Linked DNA regions of Homo sapiens: region 2 is linked to region 1. Evidence: promoter capture Hi-C in 16 types of primary human blood cells and fetal thymus (Javierre and others, 2016). All regions are on one chromosome and are shown on one strand. The core of a region is centred on a gene start or on the middle of the fragment in contact, and the rest is flanking DNA. Distances in the headings are between cores, read along the strand shown.

The links. Contacts are between HindIII fragments. The CHiCAGO score rates a contact against its expected background, and 5 or more counts as called.
Region 2: a contact is called between the fragment with the promoter of TSPAN1 here and the fragment with the promoter of MMACHC in region 1, in 1 of 17 cell types (fetal thymus). The highest score is 6.6, in fetal thymus.

Annotation. Positions count from the first base shown.
Region 1 is chr1:45,499,036-45,501,590 of GRCh38, reverse strand. MMACHC (metabolism of cobalamin associated C) reads right to left here and starts at 1,291. Exons shown (of 4, transcript NM_015506.3): 1 at 1,178-1,291. The coding sequence starts at 1,258. CCDC163 (CCDC163 homolog) reads left to right here and starts at 1,518. Exons shown (of 5, transcript NM_001102601.3): 1 at 1,518-2,059; 2 at 2,148-2,246. The coding sequence starts at 1,982. RefSeq lists enhancers at 1,297-1,496, 1,046-1,578. The HindIII fragment of the contact is 9,755 bases long and covers 41-2,555 here.
Region 2 is chr1:46,173,815-46,176,369 of GRCh38, reverse strand. TSPAN1 (tetraspanin 1) reads right to left here and starts at 1,283. Exons shown (of 9, transcript NM_005727.4): 1 at 961-1,283. It overlaps P3R3URF-PIK3R3 (P3R3URF-PIK3R3 readthrough), which reads left to right. Exons shown (of 10, transcript NM_001303427.2): 1 at 1-142. It overlaps P3R3URF (PIK3R3 upstream open reading frame), which reads left to right. Exons shown (of 2, transcript NM_001328655.2): 1 at 1-142; 2 at 741-884. The coding sequence ends at 784. It also overlaps a transcript of PIK3R3 not described here. The HindIII fragment of the contact is 4,826 bases long and covers 812-2,555 here.

The DNA.
Region 1 (2,555 bases), core at 42-2,541:
GGTAACACCACACCACTATCTCCACACCTTTACTCAAGCTTTTTCTGATATTTGGGATGTACATAACCCTCCTTCCTTCCAATCTATCTTTTCATATATAGCTCAATTCCATTTTTTCTGGCAAGACCAGTCTCAAGCTAGACCCAACCTACTTCTCCCTCTATATCCTCTCCCAGGACTGCTGTGAGCCACTCAGCAGAAGGAATGGGAAGTGGGTAGTCTCTTAAGCATCAGGCAAAGGGCTCAAGCTGAGCTGATTTAGCTTTGTAACTTAACTGCTCAGTGCACAGGGCACTGATGTGGGGAAATGTAACCGTGTAAATGGGGGTCGGGGTGCGGTGCTGAGACTGCTGTGCCAGGCAAGTGTACAAAGTTTCATTACCCAGCCCAGCACTGATGACTGGAAATATCATGAATTATCCTTCTGTTGGTAGAGGGAACAAACCAGCCAATTGTTTGCCTGTTCATCACCAGGAATGCCCTTCCTTCCTCAGCTGACCTAAATGATAGCTATGCAAACCTTCTAGGCTTTGCCCTCTCCTAAATCCTTTAGGAAGTTCCAAGGTGACTTTGCCTCACAGGTCCCTTTCTTCTTGTAAATTATATAGGTGACAATCTGAGCCACACACGCTACAGGTCATATGGTGTCTCCCGTTAACGAATCCGGCATTATATGGTGGCAAAAGGTTAAACATGCGACAACTTTTTTTTTTTTTTTTTTTTTTGACACGGAGTTTCGCTCTTTGTTGCTCAGGCTGGACTGCAATGGCGCAATCTCGGCTCACTGCAACCTCCGTCTCATGGGTTCAAGCAATTGTCCTGCCTCAGCCTCCCGAGTAGCTGGGATTACAGGCATGCACCACCACGCCCGGCTAATTTTATATTTTTAGTAGAGATGGGGTTTCACCATGTTGGCCAGGCTGGTCTCGAACTCCTCACCTCAGGTGATCCGCCCGCCTCGGCCTCCCAAAGTGCTGGGATTACAGGCGTGAGCCACCATGCCCGGCCTCGACCACTACCTTTTTAACCCAAGCCCCCACTGAAACTCTGTCCCTGTTGTCACATGGACACTGGGCTGCAGGAACCCAGGAGGATCAGAGGCTCCCGAGGCCTCACGCCAGTTGCAACGAAGCCAATCATATATTTCGCCCTAGAACAGCAGGAGGGATAAACTAACCTGGAAGGGGTAAACCTCGAAGCCAAAAGGACATAGCGTGTCCTCGATCTTCTGCTTCAGCTCTGCGACTTTCGGCTCCATAGCGCACGTTACACGCTGAGCTTGCTGGGGAATGAAGTCTCAAGGACAATTGGGCCGTTACGTTTTGAGTCAGCTTCGACTCCATTTCCCAGGTAGGAAATGGGTCCAGTAGCGGGACCATATTGCCTATGCGCGATGCATCTTGGGATGCGTAGTTCGTTTCCTCCTTGGAGACAGCCACACGAAATCAGGAAGACTCAGTTTCCCGGCAAGCTACACGGTGGGGGTGTGCATGTACGTGTCTCTTCTAGAGAAAGGTAGTTCCACCGCCTCCATCGCCGGTTGTGTTCGCAAGAGGCGACCTCAGTTTCCCAGGTGGCGCTGCGGCAGCCAGTCCAAAGTCGGACTTTCAAAACCAACCCGAAGTTTTGAACCCGGCGGCGGCAGTTGTCACTGGCACAGGTTTGGCGTGGTGGCGCCAGTGTACTACTTCTGGGGAGGTCTCAACCAGGTTCTGGCACCTTCAATCCCCACCTGATATCTGCGTATCATCACGGTATCCCGCTTTTCCCCCAGTTCCCCAAGAGCGTCCTTCCTTTCCCTAGTCACAGGATCGCAGTTTTGGTCTGATAGTGCATCCACCTACCCCAGTGTTGCATCCCCACTTCCCTCTTTCCATCTAACGTGGTGGCCTTTCCTGGGGATACCTTGGGTATCCCCCGCTAGGAGAGCAAGCACAAGACACCAGGGAGCCAGACCCCTGCCGCTCCCCTGCCACAGGATATGAATACGAGCCTCAGCTGGTTTGAGCAGCTGGATGTGCTTCTCAACGCTACTGATGGAAATGTGGTCCGGAATAAGGTGAGGGGTTGGTGGAGGTCCCCAGTTTGCGTGGGGAGGCTAAGGGACTCTCAGAGTTCATTGGCCTGTGCATCTGTTTCTTTTGTAGCAGTGGCTGTATCCTCTTGGGGTCTCCACAGAGCTCATTGGCCTGTGCATCTGTTTCTTCTGTAGCAGTGGCTGTATCTTCTTGGGGTCTCCACCGCAGGTAAGTAATGTCTCTTTCTACTTCCAAGCCCTTTCTCTTTCTGTGCCTTCCTCCAGTGCCCGTATCATCCATTATTCCTTCCAAATTCCAACTCTGTCCTTTCCTGAACTCTGTTTCCCCACACAGACCCTGCACTTAACCCTTCCTTATTTCCTCAGCCGGGGACCTGGCTGGGACCTGGATTTCCTCTCATCACTTGCCTCTGCAGTCAGGAGTCCAAGCTCAACAGCCTTGGGCTTTAGAGACTCCCATAGTTCCACAAAGGCTGAGCTGCCCTGAGTCCTAGAGCCCATCCTCTCTCTGGGGTGA
Region 2 (2,555 bases), core at 34-2,533, 670 kb before region 1:
TTCAAGTGTAGCCGCAGAAGATATCAACAGGGTCTCCGAGGTCGAACTGCCAGCAGTGCAGCCATCAATCCTGCCACCAGGGCCATGGGTATCAACAACACCCACACTGACACCACCATAGTGTGGATCTTCCCACCTCAAGGTTAGCCAGGGGGCCTGTGAGCCAGGGTGGGGTTTTAAAAAACAGAGCCACTAGGCTGGGTGCGGTGGCTCATGCCTGTAATCCCGGCACTTTGGGAGGCCAAGGCGGGCAGATCACAAGGTCAGGAGATCGAGACCATCCTGGCTAACACGGTGAAATCCCATCTCTACTAAAAATACAAAAAAAAATTAGCCGGGCGTGGTGGCACACGCCTTTAGTCCCAGCTACTTGGGAGGCTGAGGCAGGAGAATTGCTTGAACCCGGGAGGCAGAGGTTGCAGTGAGCCAAGATCGCGCCACTGCACTCCAGCCTGGGTGACAGAGCTAGACTCTGTCTCAAGAAAAAAAAAAAAAAACCAGAGCCAGTGAAGATTTCCCTACCTGGTTCTGTTTAGGCACGCCAAAGGATGATCTCTGTGAAATAGCACCCCTACATATATGGGGGACTCCTGATGGCAGGCACCCCAAAGTGCTGACAGCCTTAATGGAGGATGGATTGGCTGGAAGCAGAGGGTTTGGGGAGGGGCTGAATCCAAGAGGCAGGGAACTTCCAGAACTGCTTCCTTCCTCAAACTCTTCCCTCTCCTTCCTCTCCTCAGTTCTCAGACATCTCAGGCAACCTGGGATTTTTCTGATCCTCTAGAAGTGCCCAGAAGCTAGCCCAGAAGCTTGGTTTGCCCTGGACCTGCATCTCCTAGGGGCCGTGTGGGTGGTGAACAACAAATACAGTCATTCTGCTCAAACTGCCTTATTCCACACAGAGGTGTTAACCAGCTGACTATGCAGGGCGTGAGGGGAGGGTTATGGCTGAATACTTACAGGGAAAGGCTTCAGTGACCGCAGCAGGGATCATAGTTTAAGACAGCAGGAGGACAGGACAAGGTCAGCAACATAGACCATCTTTGGTCTCAGCTCTTGATCTGCCCCATGAAGTAGGGGCTCTCTTGCCTTACACTCCTAACTGCACAGGGAGAAGGGTCTCTGTAAACATCTTGGAAGGTATTGGGAGGCACAGATCAGAGAGGGATAGGATGAAAGACTGAACCCTGAGAGTACACAAGTATGAGGTGGATGTGAGGTGGATGTGCCTCTGTGTGCCTGTGATGGTCAGCGTGTAGGTGTAGCTGCTGGTGTGTGTGTCTGAGGCCGGGAGAATAGGAGTATCAGTAGATGTGGCTGAATGTGCCTTTGTGATTTAATGTGCCTCTGTGACTGACTGTGAGTGTCAAGGAGCGTTTGTGAGGGTATGGGTGTGCCGGAGAGGACATCAGCCCTGGTAAGAAAAGTGAAGGTCAGGAGGGGGATGGGGAACAGCCTAAAGGAGGAGAACATGGAGAAGGGTGAGATTCTGAGAAAGGCATACTACCTTCGGCCCTTCAACCATTCTCTGAGGTCAGTGTTTTCCAGAACTGGCAGCTGAGCTGGGGTGCTTAGGGGTGGGGCAAGACTGAGTTTGAGCCCAGAAAGTAGGGAGGGTGCTAAGCTCTCTGGCCTGGGGATTTTCCATTTGGATTTCTGAGTGTGTGCTCATGTGTCACTGGCTGTAACCGGGTTTCTGTGGGGTTGTGTCTTAGTCGCTGGGAACATTTTGTAGGACTCTGTCTCGAATATGTTGCATCATGCATGGGCTAATACGTGTTGCACCGGTCCGAGATCTGGCTGCATTTCCAGGCTACCTTCCCAAGGGGCTAGGGAAGGGAGTGAACCCTGAGACCTTTGGTGGCCTGGCCCCCTGGGGTTCAGGAAGTGTGGCTAATGTCCTTTGCTGCCTGTGAAGGGAAAGTGAATTGTGCTTATGTCTATCTACCCCAACTCTTGCCAGAGACTGGGACCCTGAGGGGGGTTGAGGCAGAGAATTCACTGACACACCATGCCCAGACGGTGCTGGGCTCCTCAGGTTATGGGATGGGGGTTGCTGAACATCAGTCAAAGCTAGAAGGTGCTTGGGCCATGCTCAAGGGCCCAAGAGGGGCCATACATATAAAGATACATGACACAGTTCACAAACACATGCAGACATGTAAATATAAGTGAACTCATAGACACATACTGCAACAACCACACACATGCATGCAAGCACATACTATAAGCAGATATACGCAGACACAAATGCATAGATCCCCACACGATATATGTAACAACACATACGCATGCCTCTAAATGAACACAGACAGAAACATGCATGCACCCAGACACAAGCACACAAGCACCCAGATGCAGACACATGCCTTCACACTCATGCAAACCCAGGCACACACAGACATACACGCATGCAGACACACTCACCAGACTTCCCTGCCCCTGCGGCCCTGGGACCCAGAAGCCTCCCTCCCCTATATGAGTGTGTAGTATGTGTGTGTGCATGCACTCATGCCCACACTTGTGTCTGTGTGTATCTGTGTCTGTGAGAGTGT